6 separate regions of the Homo sapiens genome follow, and all the other regions are linked to region 1. The links are contacts of gene promoters, found by promoter capture Hi-C in blood cells and fetal thymus (Javierre and others, 2016). All regions are on one chromosome and are shown on one strand. The core of a region is centred on a gene start or on the middle of the fragment in contact, and the rest is flanking DNA. Distances in the headings are between cores, read along the strand shown. Region 1 holds the start of UBQLN1 (ubiquilin 1). Region 2 overlaps FRMD3 (FERM domain containing 3). Region 3 has its middle 100 kb from the start of SLC28A3-AS1. Region 4 overlaps FRMD3 (FERM domain containing 3). Region 5 overlaps FRMD3 (FERM domain containing 3). Region 6 overlaps FRMD3-AS1 (FRMD3 antisense RNA 1).

What was found. Contacts are between HindIII fragments. The CHiCAGO score rates a contact against its expected background, and 5 or more counts as called.
Region 2: a fragment that was not itself captured here is called in contact with the fragment with the promoter of UBQLN1 in region 1 in 2 of 17 cell types (M1 macrophages and M2 macrophages); the score reaches 5.8 in M1 macrophages.
Region 3: a contact is called between a fragment that was not itself captured here and the fragment with the promoter of UBQLN1 in region 1, in 2 of 17 cell types (total CD4 T cells and total CD8 T cells). The highest score is 5.6, in total CD4 T cells.
Region 4: a fragment that was not itself captured here is called in contact with the fragment with the promoter of UBQLN1 in region 1 in 2 of 17 cell types (erythroblasts and M1 macrophages); the score reaches 5.5 in erythroblasts.
Region 5: a contact is called between a fragment that was not itself captured here and the fragment with the promoter of UBQLN1 in region 1, in 1 of 17 cell types (monocytes). The highest score is 5.4, in monocytes.
Region 6: a fragment that was not itself captured here is called in contact with the fragment with the promoter of UBQLN1 in region 1 in 1 of 17 cell types (monocytes); the score reaches 6.1 in monocytes.

Annotation. Positions count from the first base shown.
Region 1 is chr9:83,706,489-83,709,270 of GRCh38, forward strand. UBQLN1 (ubiquilin 1) reads right to left here and starts at 1,470. Exons shown (of 11, transcript NM_013438.5): 1 at 1,012-1,470. The coding sequence starts at 1,191. It overlaps UBQLN1-AS1 (UBQLN1 antisense RNA 1), which reads left to right and starts at 1,347. Exons shown (of 2, transcript NR_135839.1): 1 at 1,347-1,824. RefSeq lists enhancers at 493-1,383, 1,151-1,220, 1,384-2,272. The HindIII fragment of the contact is 7,028 bases long and covers 1-2,782 here.
Region 2 is chr9:83,299,498-83,302,198 of GRCh38, forward strand. The region is part of intron 10 of FRMD3 (FERM domain containing 3); the gene reads right to left. Among named protein-coding and RNA genes, the nearest start is that of FRMD3-AS1, 82 kb to the left of the region's middle. The HindIII fragment of the contact is 1,275 bases long and covers 665-1,939 here.
Region 3 is chr9:84,172,733-84,175,432 of GRCh38, forward strand. No RefSeq gene overlaps it. Among named protein-coding and RNA genes, the nearest start is that of SLC28A3-AS1, 100 kb to the right of the region's middle. RefSeq lists an enhancer at 247-756. The HindIII fragment of the contact is 1,143 bases long and covers 732-1,874 here.
Region 4 is chr9:83,338,288-83,340,997 of GRCh38, forward strand. All of the region lies in intron 5 of FRMD3 (FERM domain containing 3), which reads right to left. Among named protein-coding and RNA genes, the nearest start is that of FRMD3-AS1, 120 kb to the left of the region's middle. The HindIII fragment of the contact is 762 bases long and covers 970-1,731 here.
Region 5 is chr9:83,406,396-83,409,107 of GRCh38, forward strand. All of the region lies in intron 1 of FRMD3 (FERM domain containing 3), which reads right to left. Among named protein-coding and RNA genes, the nearest start is that of FRMD3, 130 kb to the right of the region's middle. The HindIII fragment of the contact is 1,095 bases long and covers 795-1,889 here.
Region 6 is chr9:83,235,756-83,238,455 of GRCh38, forward strand. All of the region lies in intron 2 of FRMD3-AS1 (FRMD3 antisense RNA 1), which reads left to right. Among named protein-coding and RNA genes, the nearest start is that of FRMD3-AS1, 18 kb to the left of the region's middle. The HindIII fragment of the contact is 4,774 bases long and covers 1-2,700 here.

The sequences.
Region 1 (2,782 bases), core at 220-2,719:
ACCAATACCCCAATCACCTACTGTCCCTGGGGAAACTGATAGGTACATTTCAGGAATTGTTGTTTCCTGTCACCAACTGTTCACGTTGTTTGCGATCTTCAGAGATTAAGTCAGTAATTATGGAAAACACGACGTATTCAACAATACACTAAAATTATTTGTTAAATTCCACCAAGAATCTTAATTAACTGCAAGATTTGTATTCCTGAACCAAGTTTAAGTAATATTCTGCATTCACTCCGATTTTCTTTTATTTGATTGCAACCGCTAATATCAACATCGCTATCGCCCCTCTAAAATCAAACAAAAACCTACCCAATGATTGGCATCTAAGAGATGATAAACATACTAAAAGGGAAAGAGCAAGTCATCAGTGAAAGAAAGTCATTCACTTTTCTCCTTAAACCTAGTACTATCACTATTACTTAAGATGGAGCTAAAAACAGTTTCTACGTCATAATTTTTTTTTAAAGGTTGCAAGGTGGGAAAGATTTCAGGAGTTAAAATGCAGAACTAAATATACACATGCACCTCACCCCAAAACCCACCTTAACAAGCAGGCACGTAAAACAACGAGGATCCCACCCACCCCTTTTTAATTCATGAAACAAAACCGCAGCCTGAGCTAAAGCGAACCCTCGCCCCCGCCCAGCCTCCACCCCGCCCGGAGGCTGGCGGTGGGTCCCTTTCCTTTGTGAGGAGTTGGAGGGGAGGCGACGGAGGGCGGGGAACTGGGGGAGGAGGCTGAGGGTCGGCGGATACCAGAGAAGGAAGGCTCCGAGAAAAGCGGCATCAGCCCGTCCCACAAACAGGCCGCGCCGCCACGCCACAAACCATTGCGGTGTCCCAAGGCGCAAACCCACGAACTTGGGTGTGATCTAATTTGGGACGACGCCCGGGAGAATGGCCGAGGACGACCCCTCTCCCAGGCCCTTCCAAAAGGTCTCCTGGGGCGGCGGGCGGAGGTCCTGCCGCCACCCCCATCCCGGCCCGAGCCCCAGGCGGCCTCACCTGCTGGACGGAGCTATTCTCGGGCACGGCGAATTCCTCCTTTTCCTTCGGGGTCTTCACGGTGACTTTCATGATTTTGGGCTCCGCGGAGGCAGCGGCCGCGGGGGCGCCAGCACCTTCGGCTCCGGCGGCGCTATCCTGGGAGCCCGGAGGACCGCCGCTTTCACCACTCTCGGCCATGGCTGTGGCGGCGGCGGCGGCGGTGACTCAGGCAAGCAGGAGGGAGCAGGCGAGCAAGGAGGAGCCAGCAGACACCAGAGCCGGCAGGCCTGGACAGCGAAGAATGCAGAGCACGCCGCCTCAGTAGCAACGGGCGCAGGGCCACCGTAGCGGGTGTGGGGCCCCGGAGCTCGGTGCAGGCTCTGGCGCAGGCCCGGGTCAGGCGCTCGGCAGCCGCCGTGTGTTCAGGCGCCGCTCGCTCACACCGACATCCGCAGCAGCCACCGCTTCCTCCTCCCTGCCCCTTCCCCCACGTCCCTTCGCCGGCGCCGCGCGGAGCACGCCGGGTAACGCGCCTGGCGGCGTCGCCGAGTCATCCCCGGCTGGCGCGACTTTGAGCTCAGCCTGCGTGCCTTTTCCTTTCCCGCTCCATTGCCCAAAGTGCAGGCGAAGCCAGTGTGAAGGACTAAAAGCAAAATGGGGCGGGGTAGGTCAGTTCATGGTTTTTTTCCACTCCTTTCACCAAAAACTAAATCGCAGTTTCCAGTTAAGCGCTGTAACGGCGCACCGAGATGACGTCACGGTTAGCGAAATTACTAGAAAGGGACCAGTGGGCCCTGCGGCCGCGGCTGCGCCTGCGCGCTTGCTGTCCAGGTAGTCTCCCCACCTTACCTCATGCCCAGCTGGGCCGTGTTCACCCCTCCGCGCTGTCACAATCGCCTTGCCCTCCCTTGCCTCTCTGTCTACTCTGCGTTCCCCGCTGGGAGGAGGGTCTGGTGATAAAATAGCGGCGAGGTATTTTGTTATTTTAATATGCTTAGCGTTTGATATTTGGAGGGGTCGTATTGCCCTATGCGGGGGAGTTGGGGTAAGTTAATGGTGGAAAGGCCTCAGCACAACGAACAGAAAATGGAGTGAACGCCCGTGACTGCCCTGCGCAATCCTGCGGAGTCATTGCTTCATGGCCAGAGCTTATTTACCGCCCTCGGGTTAGCCCGGTTTGGTCAGACGATCAGTCAGGCAACCTGTATTGACAGTGGCCTCTGCTGCTACGATGACAGCTGTGCGCGAGCGCCCCCAGATTATCTGTGTGTAGGGCGGAACAGGGTGCCCGAGGAGTGTCCACCCAAATGGGACAATTTAATATAGTTGAGGTGTTCGCCTTATATTCTATCAAATTAAGTTACTGGTCAATTTCAGGCTTTAAGTGGCATTAAGGATAGTTCCAAAATTATTTTCAGTGTAATACAGAGAGAAATTATCTCTGAGAATCCTAATTTGAAATGACGTCATTGGCTTTTAAAGATGACTTGCAAGGAATGTACAAACCAGCCCATTATTAATCAATGTTGCACAATTTAAATCCTGACAGCCCACTATGACCCAAATCCGCAAAGATACATTCTGCCTTTCTGCTCCTAAGCCGTCCAACCCTGTTCTGAGAATAAATACTGTTACATAAACACGACTTTTTAGCAGAGCTCTATGGAATCTGGGTCTAAGAGAATCCTGAGGGTATCGATTTCAGTATAGACATCATTTGATATCACCTAAATTTCTGGCAGCATGGCTCAATAACAAGGCCTTCTGCTTAATGAAGGATGACTACTTG
Region 2 (2,701 bases), core at 52-2,551, 410 kb before region 1:
GAAGGAATTCTCCCCTAATTTCTATCTGAAGATATGGAGAAGAGGGAATTTTGTGACATGGCATCAGGAAGTTCGTGGTTGTTAGGGCACTTTGCTGCCTATTCCTGTATCCACAGTGAGGCAGAAAACAGCTTCCTGGCAACAGAGGTCACTGACTATGCCACGAAGAACTCACTGTGCATTGCCCAAGTGAGGGAACAAGGGTCCCGCATCACCACAGGAATGGTCACTGGCTTCTGTGTCACCATGACCCAGTGCCCTTTAAAAGAACCCACAGTGGTAGATGACTAAGATACACGAGGCAGAAGCTGCCCAGACAAGAACTGATTCAGCACCTCTGAGCCCTACTCGTAAATAAGAGCAAAACAACAACACTCTGAAAAGCAGCCTAGAGCCTGGGCTGCCGGAAGGCTGCACACAGGGCACTAAATTACTGTGACAGCTGAGGATGGCTCTACAGCAGTCATGTTAAGCCTTGTACAATTAAATCCAACAAGTTAGAAAGAACAGGTCTCAGAGAGTTCAGCATCGTTTAAAATATTGATAGTCACAAAATCTTAAACACACACAGACAAAATCAATATGATCTGTAGCATCCTGAGCAAAGACATGCACGGAGCCAGGGAAGTTTCAGCGCAGTGATCCCCACCCTTGAGCCTCTTGAAGCTTCCTTTATTCACTCAGCAATCATTAACTGAGTGCCATCCCTGCTCTACACACCAAGGTAAGTACAAGAAAGACACATGGCTGATCTAGCCTGGGGGCCAGAGAAGATGCCCTGAGGAAGGGACATCTGAGTTGAGATCCAGAGGCTGAAAGGTGTTAACCAGGGCACGGTGCAAGTGGTGGTGGATATACCCAGCAGAGGGCCAGCAGGCGCAAAGCCATCAGCCTAAACATCTAGAGAACTCAAAACACTCAATTATTCTAAGTTAAGCAACTCAGGAATGGAAAACCAAAAATTCTATATTCTCACTTCTAAGTGGGAGCTAAGCTATGCATATGCAAAGGCATACAGAGTGATATAATGGACTTTATAGACTCAGAAGGGGAGGGTAGTAGGGGCCAGGGATAAAAACTACACATTAGGTGCAATATACACTAATTGACAGGTGCTCCAAAATCTCAGAATTTACCACAATATAATTCATCCATGTAATTGAAAACCATTTGTACCCCAAAAGGTATTGAAATTTTTTAAAAATATATAAAATACATTTTTAAAAGACTCAATGCACATTTTCCCATGTTATTATTACTACACACACACATATTTTTTTTCCTTTCCTAATAAAGATAAGTGAATGTACAGATGTACGAAGGAGAATAAGGCAAACTTGGACAGAGAGCCAGAATCCAATTTCCCAGGACCAGACCTTAAGTGGTCCTTGTTAAGGATCTTGGTCTTTATCGAGAGAACAATGGAAAGCCATAGGAACAATCTTTTGCAAAGAAGCCCCTTCCCACCACCTGTGTAAACAGCCAAAGATGACACAGAAGGGCACTGGACACAAATATTAAGCAGGGAGAGTAAGATGGGCAAGGGAGGGCACAGGGCTTGGCAGGGGGATCCTGTCAGGGCAGGGCCCAGAGAAAATGGTACAGGACCCCTGAGGACACACAGAGGCACGTGAGAGCCATGGCCCTGGGGGGGGCCCTGCAGTGTGCTGGCTGGAGCTTCCTTCCAGACCACACCCACTCACGAGGCTAGAAACCCCCAGCAAGCTGCATTGAGATGGTCCCAGCTGTGCCCTCCACCTCCTATGAGGACATGCCTGCTCTGGGTCCATCTGCACCCCCTAAAACTCCCCACTAGCCCTACAGAGCTGTGGCCTGACACTTTATCTACTGGAGCCTGAGAAAAGGACAATCACCTCTGCCCTCTCCCCATCTTCTTGGAAGGGTTGCTCCCAAGTCCTCAAAGATTGGGAGAAGAGAAAGCTTTAAAGAAGCTTCTATTTTTTATTGTGTATGTGTTTTTTTTTAATTCCAAGTTCCTAAAGATCCTTGGGACAAAGTGGTTGGCTTAAAAAAAAAAAAAGATTGAGTTTCTTAATTGGGTTTTTAAAATTCAAACTCAACACTTTGCCCATTCTACAGAAGCGACACGTGAAGCCGGCAAAGCCGGCGCAGGTGTGAGTCAACCTCCTGGCCACTCAGGTGGCTCTTTTTCACTAGTTTGGCCTTAGCTCTGGCCCTTCCAGGCCCCAGGAGGAAGCCACTATCATCGGCTTGAACCCAGACTGGCCTCTTAGAGGGAAGTCTCAGTCTCAGTACTGCTTCCCAAAAACCCTCAAAGTGACTCAAAAGAAGCAGGTCAAAAGATACATTTCACAAAGATGGCCAGTAGCTGTATGCTCAGGATGAGCAGAGAGAAAAGACTGTGCGTCTTTCTGGCTGCGGGTTCCCCTGGAGGAGTATCTGCAGGTGATCTGATTTGCTCAGAGACAGTTGCCTCAGAGCATTCCCACGAATCCCCTGCCCTCCCAAATGTCCAGGTGAACTCCCAGAATGTTTCAGCTGAGATTTTTAATGAAACGTTAACAGGCAGTTTATTCTGAGAGCTCAAATGACACCCATGCACTGGGAATTGGGAAACAAGGCTGTAGAGGGGAGGGGAATGGAGAGAGGAGAAAGAATGGTGGCCAGGTTAAAGTACATGAATCCGGAGTACCAGATCCCAAACCTGGCCGGGCATCAG
Region 3 (2,700 bases), core at 53-2,552, 470 kb after region 1:
TGAGACGGAGTCTCGCTCTGTCACCAGGCTGGAGTGCAGTGGCGCAATCTCGGCTCACTGCAATCTCCGCCTCCCGGGTTCAAGCGATCCTCCTACCTCAGCCTCTCGAGTAGCTGGGACTACAGGCGCCCGCCACCATGCCGAGCTAATTTTTTGTATTTTTAGTAGAGACGGGGTTTCACCATGTTGGTCAGGAAGGTCTTGATCTCTTGACCTCGTGATCCGCCCACCTCGGCCTCCCAAAGTGTTGGGATTACAGGCGTGAGCCACCGCGCCCGGCCCGGCCTGTGCTGACGGCTTCTTAACTGCAAATGTCTGTAACTCAGATTGCAGGAGCTGGCTTGCCCACCTTCACAGCGGGCCTGCAGTGGTAGGAGTTAATGGTCACATCCACGAGAGTAGCTTTCAAAGAATGACGAAGGGAAGATGGTGGGTAAAACTCTGAGGCTCATTCTCCAGCTTTCTTAGGGGGTCCGCAGGGATGCAACCCCAAAGACCGTAATGCTCCCTGGATTGACTTTCCTCTCTTCACACTTATTTCCCCGGCCCCCTAGTGGTGCTTCTTGGGAACACCTCTCAAATAGATGATTTGTACTCTAGTCCTAGTCTCAACCCAACCTAAAACAATGGCACATGGGCACATACTTTTATTTTAATGGCCATGTGTTTTAACATGTATTAGAAAAAATATAAATTGCACACCGTATCTGTGATTTCATGGATATTAGTGAAGCTTAAGTTTCAAAAGTGAGTCAATTTAAACCGAAGTGGAAAGTAATGGTATTCGGGTATTTGACAAATCACAAAGGGAGAGTGTGAATGGGGGATAATTGTATTAGAGCTTGAGGTTACCTGTAAACTGGAGCGCTTCCAGCTTTCTGGAATAAACTCAAGGACACTGGTCCTTAATTCAGTGTTCCTGAAAAGACTCCCAGGGGCTCACCAGCCCTTGAGAGATTATGCAAAGTTTTATGTATTTGGATCCTCTTCCTCCCAAAAGTTCATTTGCCTTAGTCTTAGAAAGGCATATTTCACTCAAAGTCAAGAGAGAGAGAGAGAGAGGAAAAAAAAAAGGAAGGAAGAGAGGGAGAGGGGGAGGACAGGCAGACACTCTGTTTTTCTATTTTATTAATGTAATTCAGATCTCTGTTTCTGTTGCAAAAAAGCAAAAAATAAAACAAAGGAGAGGAATGAGGAGATGGAGCCCTGATCCAAATAACAACAACAACAAAAAAAGTGTCTGTAGAATTGGGTTACTGGATGACTTCGGGGAGATGAGCTATCCATCACCACCCGCATCCTCAATAAAAAAACCTGGAAATATCTTCTGAGGATTTTTGCTTGTTAGGAAGGATGGCTATAGCCCAAGAGCAGCATCTGTATACAATGAGTGAAAAAATATTTGGTAACAAAGATCCATTAAACACCCAAATCTACCAAGTATCAGATGGCAAGATAAATGAGATTTTTGTACATGCAAAGCAAATTTTATATAAACAATAACCAAGGCAGTTCCTGTTGCTTCATAAAGCAGGACTTCTGTTAATAGCAGAAACAGCAAATACAGAAAACCAAGCCAATGCATTTTAATGCCTGATTTTGATGCATTAAAAAAATCAAGAAATTCAACAATTCACAGCCAATTGTATATTCATGCCACCCAGACTGAATTAGGATTAGAATCAGCTGTGAGCAACAGAAAATCCAAAATAATGAGTGGTGGAACAAAGATGGAAATTTATTTTTTTCATGTGAAAGTCTGAGTAAATGGTCTAGGGGCTGGTGTGATTATTCATAATACCAGGGAACATTGAATGGCTTCTCCAGTTCAAGCCATCATGTCCCCATTCCAGCCAGCAGAAAGGAGGAAAAGAAGCTTCCCTATAAGGACACTTCTGTGATGTTGCATACACCACTTCCTCTTACATTTCTTTGCCTAGAACTTAATAACTTGACCACACCTATCTGCAAGAGAGGGTAAGAAATGCAGTTATTATTCTGGGAGTTCATATGCTCAGCTAAAAATTCTCTTGCTGTGGAAGAAGAGAATAGATATTGGGTAATACCAGCAGTCTCATCTACCCAGATTTCGTACATATTGGTAGTTCTAAGTAGTTAACTTTGGCATGATACTCAACTGTAAGTCTTATTTAATGTGTCAATGAAATTGCTTGACCCTAATCACCCAGTTTTTAAAGCTGCCTCTAATTAAATCTTTTCTGACATCCACAAATAAAGCATATTTTTCATTTTGAGTATCTGTCTACTTGATGCTGGACAAAATTCGGCCCACCTAGAATAGCAGGTATAGTTTGTGGGTTATCGAAACCCTTTGTTCTCTCTCCTTTTCTGTTCAACATACTTGTGGCCACTTTCCCATTAGTTAAAGTCTGAAATAGAGAAAGAAAGATTTAAAAAAGAAATAAAGTCTAATCAGATGTTTTGTTCCTTTTCAGCAACATTTCTCCAGGGCTAAAGTAGAAGAGATTAGAAATAAGTAACATTAAGTTTTGGGATTTATCTGTCATAAAAACAGTCCTTTAGGCCAGTTGATGAGCAAAGCCCTTTTCACTGCCATCTGTAATTGTGGCTGCAGCCCTGTGAAGAAGGCAGTGTCATCTCCACTTGAGCGAAGAGATGAAACTTACCAGACAAAGCAGTTATTAAAGGGCAAAGCCAGGATTTTCACTGGGGTCTCTC
Region 4 (2,710 bases), core at 101-2,600, 370 kb before region 1:
GGGTGCTAGATGCATGTTGCTCCTCCAGAGAGCAAGGTGGGAGTTTTTAGTCAAATATTATGACCTAGCAATCCCATTTCTGGGCATTTTTCCTAGAAAAACTCTAGGTGCAAAAAAAGGATATGTTCAAGGTTTTTTTTATGACAGCATTAATCATAATAGTCAGAAGTTGGAGGCAACTTGGGTGTTTATTGTTAGTGGGACAGCTAGATAAGTAAAACATGGAAGACGCACCCTTTGGGACACTCTGTCACAGTTAAAATCAACAAAATAAGATGTACGTATGCAATATGGACAGATCCCAAAAGCAGTGTTCTGAGCGTAAGAAGGAGGGAATACAATGAGTTCTATAGCATCATTTAATTTATGAAATTTAGAAGTATAGACACAAAAAAACAATATTAATCATTTTATAAGGATGGATACAAAGACAAAGATATGTATATGAACCCAGCATTGCCCTTAGGAGTGGAAATGGAGAATAATGGAAAAAGGGAAATCAATCAATCAATCCATGGGCCTAAAGGGACCAATGATGAGAGGTGGGCCATAAACTGATGATTAACTCAACCTATGTTCCAAAAGAAATACACGTAACATGTCCACCTTTACACACATACACGCTTGTGCCCCTGTGAGCTAGCTACAGGCATTAATATTTAGGAGATGGACGATCCCAGTGCTTCCATTTTCCATAGGTAATTTCCAAAGGTGATGGGACAATGGACCACCAATATGAAACTGGGTCATCTTCAATGCAAATGTCAGCTTGCAGAGTGGTTGGTGAGGGAGGGCATCGTTTTTCAGGGTGCCCTTTTCTTTCCAGGAAATCTTGTGAGATATTATAGACTTGCAATGCTACACACTGCAAATGTTAGAAAAGTTAGAGAAGAAATGCTGTGAAGACTGCACCGGATTGCTGACAAGATTAACACTGTCCCCATCACAGGCCCTGCTCTGATTCCCTAAAGCTTGTCTTTAACTCTGACCTCTCCTTAAGCAGAAGGCAGGTTTTTTAAAATGAATAAAGATTTCTAGCTATTCATACCAAGAGGAGTTGGGTAAGCCGCCATGGTTCTCCCTCCTGCTCATGACTTGGAAGTTGAAGTCGTGACAAATGACATACAACTGGAGGCCCTGCGGTTTGAAACCAGCTCTAGCACTTTTCTAAAAGGATTCAATTCTAAGAGAAAAATCCAATGAGTTTGAAGTGAATGGGTGAGTAAGGTCAGAAACAGTAAGTCTAAAAAGCAACAGGCTTTCCCCTGGTTTGGAAAGGACTCATTCCAAAAGAATTTGAGATGCAGGACCTTTAGCTCCAGGGCCAACTCCTTCAGGAGCTTTCCCTGACCCATGCTTGCTAAGTCAGGAGCCCTCCTGGGACACTCATAGCAGGGACTGGGCCTGTGTGTTCCTCCATCTAACCAACAACGCAGGGTCACAATGGCCTGTTTCCTTATCCATCTTCCCACAGGAACTTTGTATTGCCATGTGGCCCCCTAGCAACTTCTCAGGAAGTATTTGGAGAACACATGAACAAATGAATGAATGAGGTAGTGATACCATCCCAGCAGGCGGCCAACCAGTCTTTCCCATAGTTAAATGAATCAGGCACAATCATTTAACTAAATGTTAAATGAATCAGGCACAGTCATTTAACGAAATGTTAAATTTAAACGTTAAATGGTTGTGACTAATTTAATTAACCATGGTTAATCAGGGCAAGTTTGAAGCTTCAGTATATTCTGAGTTTATTAAAAACAGTCAATCAAGCCAGGTGTGGTGGTGCACACCTGTAATCCCAGTTACTTGGGAGGCTGAGGTAGGAGGATTGCTTGAGGTCAGAGTTTGAGACCACCCTGAGTAACACAGTGAGATCCTGCCTACAAAAAAATACAAAACCTGTCAATCACCTGGAGTTTAGGCAAGTGCCCCGATTCATTTCAGGCAAGTGCCCTGATTCATTTAACATATTTAGTGGAGAACCTGCTGTGTGCCAGACACAGGAAGAGTGCTGTGAAAAAGCACCCAGATCCTACTCCCATGGAATTAGATTCTATATAAGAGGAAATGCACAATAAGCCCAAAAACAACTCAAGATCTAAGTGTTTGCAAGAAAACACAACAGGGCTCTGAGAAAGAATGACGTGCAGGAGGGAGCTGCTTTAGCTCGAGTGGTCCAGGTAGACTTACCAGAGGAAGTGACTTCGGGACTGAGTTCTGAATATCCAGCAGGAGTCAAGATTTCTACAGGGGTTGAACATACCAGGCAGAGGAGATAAGTTGAATTCCTCTGTGGTGTTGTTTTGTAAAAGGAACAGGAAAGATATTTTTACCAAGAAAGAATATAAATAGATCCCAAGGATTCTGTGTTTGTTTTGCAATTTGTATTATGAAAGAAAATGCATTGCATGTCTTAAATATGCTCGTTGGATTCAGTATGTACAGGCAGCAAAACTCCAGGTGATTGACTGGTTTTGTATTCCTTGTGGAGACAAGGTCTTGTCTATGTTGCCCAGGCTAGTATCAAACTCCTGGCCTCAAGAAATCCTCCTGCCTCAGCCTCCCAAGTAGCTGGAATTACAGGTGTGCACCACCACATCCAACTTGATTGACTGTTTTTTATAAACTCAGAATATACTGAAGCTTAAAACATACTCCTTGAAAGAGCATTAGCAAACAAGACGATGAGGGGCGACAGTGCCTCCTG
Region 5 (2,712 bases), core at 92-2,591, 300 kb before region 1:
AGCCTTACTCCGGGTCTCCACTGCAGAACTTATACATATATGCTTTGTGCACACAAAGAAAAACAGCAGCCCAAAGATTCCAGCTAGGGCTCTTAGGATGGAGGAAAGTTCCCACAGGTAACTCACTGGTTAATTTTAAAGAGCTCAGGAAAGGAAGGAAGGATGGCTTTTTCTCTTGTGAGTCAAGACAAGGTCCTGATGATAACCCTCCCAGATCAGAACGTAACTTTCAACCCACGAGTGCTGCTCCCCCAAGTTATATGCATCATCTCAGAGAGTTGGTTCCTTGCCATTGGGCAATTGACATGTTGTCAACGGGTCCTTATTTGGTGGTCAGTAAATGTTAGCCAGCATCGGTGAGGACACAGCCCATAGAAGAGAGCAGAGAAATCCAGAAATGTAAACTGTATGTATCTCTTCTTCAAGTTGCTGGGTTTTATTTTGTTGTTGTTCCTGTTGTTGTTTTCTGTTTAATTTATTTTCCATATTTTCCTCCAGTTTATTTTATCACTCCAAATACTCCGCAAAATGCCCCACCACCATGGTTGGTTTCACTCTTGCCATTCCCCTGTGTGAATAAAGCCCTTCTCACCACCTATCAAAATTTTGTCACTGATGTGTTCACCTGATCCTGGCAGAGAGTTCGCTGCAGATCCTGCTTCTGCATGAGAGGCCTCACAGACTCCCCACACCCTCGCTGACCTTTCTGTCCTCTGACCTCATTTGGAAATGGATGAAATACTGTCACGGTCATTTCTCATGATGGTGTAATTCCAGTTTCATCACTTATCTTAAGCTTCCTTTTCTCAAGTGAACTTATTTTTCATCAAGTTTTTCATTGTACTTTACAGGATAATTTGTACACACAGTAAATACTTGGTACAAATATTCATTAAACCATAACAAAGCACCATTTTTACCTATCCACTTCCCAAATCCAAAAATTCTAAAAATGGCCAACCCCAACAAGGATATAATGGTGGAATTGCATACTACTAGAAGTCTAAATTATGGGAGAAAATTGTGTAGATATAACTTAGGGAATTTTTAATCTCTGTATTTCCCCCAGCCTCCACTCCCACTTTAAAAAGGCATTCGGCTCCACAATCCCTACCCTCCTTGGAGGCTATATGTAGCAGAATGAAAATTAGTAGCTGGTGAGACCTCTTGGATTTTGTTTTCATATGTCTAAATCCACTGAGAATAGAATATGAGAAGTGTTCTAGTTATCTGTTCCTGTGTAACAAGCCACTCTAAAACATAGGAGCAAAAACCAATAAGTATTCTCTCACAGTTCTTTGTATTGACTGAGCTCAACTGGATGGATCTTGTCTGGGTTCCTCTATATTACTGGAGTCTGATGTGGAAGCAACTGAAGATTTCTTCACTCACATGTCTGGTGCCTAGACTGGTCTGGCCAGCAGAGGAGGGGGGTTGTTGAGTCTCTCTCTCTCTCTCTCTCTCTCTCTCTCTCTCTCATCTTTCTCTCTCTCTCTCTCTCTCTCTCTCATCTTTCTCTCTCCCTCCCCTTTCTCTTTCTCTTTCTCTCCATGCAGCTCTCCATGTGTGTAGCTAGCTTGGGCTTCCTTACACCATGGCAGTCTCCAGGAAGCCAGACTTCTCCATCAGCAGCCAGCCTCCTGCAAGATGAGCATTCCCAAAGGGTCCAGGCAGAGGTTGCTTTTCACACATTGTCACTTCCACTGCATTCTACTGATTACAAGTGAGTCACTATGGCCAACCTGGATTCAAGGGAAAGGGAATTAAACATGTCCTCTCAACGAGATGAAAGCAAAGAATGTATGGCTATCTTTATTTAATGTGCCACAGGGGAATAAAAGATTCTTCTTTCAGATTAAAACGAAGAAAGGAACAAGCTGTATGAACCAAGCTTGCTCCCTGGATGTGCTCTGTGTTGGCACAAGGATATTCGGGAGGAAAAATATGGTCTATCTAGGAAAAAAAAAATATCACAAACATGGGGCTTTCTGCCCTCACCAGGTTGTCATGTCCTAAGAACCCCCACTGGGCCCAAGGGTCAGGCTGATGTGGACATCTAGCCAATAATGAACATGCCTCCCTCCCATTTCTTGGCACCCAGTGAGACTCCAGAAACTAGGCACAACCCCCAGGTGGGGGAAAGTTCAGAAAAGACACATGAAAATGTTTCCAGCTACCCCAGGGGGAAAGGGGCTTGATATGAAAACTAGGTTGATTTATGGAAAATAGATTACTGTATCTCTTCCAGCCTGGGTTTGGGAACTGACCTTGGTGTCAACCCCTAAATTTTATTTCTTCTGACTTGACTCTTCAGTGAAGTCATTCTGCCTCTCAGGTTGAGCCTTCTGCATCCTCTCCTTTCATCACTAATTACCAGAGCAGAGTTAAGCTGCTACCACAGGCACCCTCGGACACAATCCATGCAGAAACACGTGAACTGGAAGATTAACCATTCAGGTGCAGGGAAGATGGTGGGGAGACCACACACAGCTCAATTTGGAAATGGATTTCCCATTCCCTCCTGAGAAAGAGGCGAGAAGGAAGAGAGCAGCAACCCTGCCAGAGCCAACATAGTGTGCAATCCATTGTCCTGAAAGTCTACCCAGGCAGCTCAAAGAATGCTGCGATAAATTACATACACCTCTCTATTGCCCCCAAAGAATCAGTTCCATGCAGGTCAGCAGCATACTCGGGAAAGCAAAGGTTGTCCAT
Region 6 (2,700 bases), core at 128-2,627, 470 kb before region 1:
GGGTAACCAAGGCTATTGTGCCAAGGGTTCTGAGAATCAACTTCCACATCGAACATTTATCAAAAGGTAAATAGCACAGGACAGAGGACCAGAAAAAAGAAAGTCACGCAGAGAAAGAAATCAGGAGACCTTGCATTTGTAACTTGACTATACATTTGCAATATACTCCCTACTTTGAACAACTTAGAAAAAAACATTTCTTTCTTACAAACACAGTTTCCTCCTGAAAGGAATTTTGATGTATTCTATTTTCTGATGTCTTACTATTTTGGATGTGTATCCACGTTATAGGCAACGAGATGTTTTGTTTATAAATAAATGTAGAAGAAAAATAGATGTTTTTTAGAAGCAAATTCTGGTTCTTGTTATATCTTCTGAAACTTCCAAATCCAATTTTGTTATGCATTGCCACCATGATGCTATTACTTCAGTAGAACAGGATGTCCTCAAAGAGTGAAATGGTTACGATGAGTCTAGAATGACCTGGAGGTGCCAGATTATGGGCCTTAACTCCTAGCATTTCTCAAGTAGTTACTACATGTCCAAGACTTTGCTAAGGGATTTGCAAATTCTAACTTATTTTTAAATTCCATAACAGCTCTGAGATAAGTGCTGTAGTTAAACATAATTTTAAAGATGAGGATGCCAAGAATTCAAGAGATCAAATGAGTTACCTAAAGTTACACCTAAGAAGAGCAGGAAAGCTGAGACCAGAGCTGAGGCCATCTGGCTGGAGAGCCTGAGCTCTTAGCCATCATATTACACCGACTTTCTGTTCCAGATATGCCAGCTACTTCTATCTTTATATCAGTATCTCCTAGGCAGCAATTTTATACTCTGGCCTTTTGTCATTTTTACAGAAGCACTAATAATGATGCACAAAATTATTTTGTGTAAAAAAATTAAAATTTTTGTTTTTAATAGTTTTTGTAGAATCTATTAAAATATTAATATTCATAGTTCATAAGAAAATATTAATAGTTATTTCATAATAGCTTAAGTAACTATTGAACAAAAGTTAAAAATTTATTAGAAGTAAATATCAATGGTATAAATCAAATTATTTAATCTTTATGCACAAATATTACTTATCGCTAAAATGAAACTGGGTTCAGCATTATCTATTTTTCATTTTGATAGAATTAAGTACTGACAAAACTTGCTGACAAATAGAAATGGAAAGGTTCTTGGTTATAATAAAGCTACTCAACTCGTACTCCTCACAAAATATGTTAAAAAATAACATAGTGAACCACAACAAATATAATTTTTGCTAACAGCTTTGTTGAGCTATAATTAACATACCATAAATAATGCATAAAATTCATTGGTCTTTGTTCACAGAGTCATGCGACCATCGCAACTACATAATTCAAAGAAAAATTTTATCACCCAAAAAAGAAACTCTGTACCTATTAGCAGTCATTCTTCATTCTCCCTACCCGTGGAAATCACTAATCTACTTTCTGTCTCTATAGATTTGCCTATTCTGGACATTTTATATAAATCAAATCATGCAATAGATGGCCTTTTGCTTTTGGCTTCTTTTACTTAGCATAATGTTTTCAAAGTTCATCCATGGTGTAGCGTGTACCAATACTTCATTCATTTTTATGGAATGGATACACTACATTTGTTTATGCAATTTACGAACCGATGGACATACGGGTTGTTTCCACTTCTGTGCTATTATGCAAAGTGCTGCTATGAAAATTACCCATTTTTTTGTGTAAATATATGTTTTCTGTTCTCTTGAGTATATACCTAAGAGTGGAATTGCTGGCTTGTATGGTAACCTTATGCTTAACTTTTTGAAGAACTACGAAACTGTTTTCCAAAGTAGCTGCACAATTTTTTTTTTTTTTAGACGGAGTCCCGCTCTTTCGCCCAGGTTGGAGTGCAGTGGCGCGATCTCGGCTCACTGCAAGCTCTGCCTCCCGGGTTCACGCCATTCTCCTGCCTCAGCCTCCGGAGTAGCTGGGACTACAGGCGCCCGCCACAGCGCCCGGCTAATTTTTTGTATTTTTAGTAGAGACGGGGTTTCACCGTGTTAGCCAGGATGATCTCGATCTCCTGACCTCGTGATCTGCCCGCCTCGGCCTCCCAAAGTGCTGGAATTACAGGTGTGAGCCACCGCGCCCAGCCTAGTAGCTGCACAATTTTACATTTTTACCAGGAATATATGAGGGTTTCAATTTATCCACATCCTCAGCAACACTTCGTGGCCTGTCTTTTTATTATAGCCATTCTTGTGGGTGTAAAGTAGAATCTCAATGTGGCACTGATTTGCATTTCTTTAATGACTAATGATATTGGACATCTTTTCGTGTGCTTACTATCCATTTGCATATTTCCTTTACCAAAATGTCTATTGTGATAACATTTCCTACTTTAAAAATTGGTTATGTTTTTTATTACTGAGTTGTAAGTATTCTTTATGTATTATGGGTACAAATTCATTATCGGATGTATGATTTAAAAATATTTTCATCCCTTCAGTGTTTTGTCTTTTCACTTTTCTTGACAGTGTCTTTTAAAGCACAAAAGTTTTTAAATTTATCTATTACTATCTAATTTACCTATTTTTTATTTTGTCTCTAGTGCTTTTGCTGTCCTTAGAAACCATCCTCTCTAATCAAAGGTTACAAAGATCTGATCTTATGTTTCTTCTAAAAGTTTTGTAAATTTTATTAAACACAA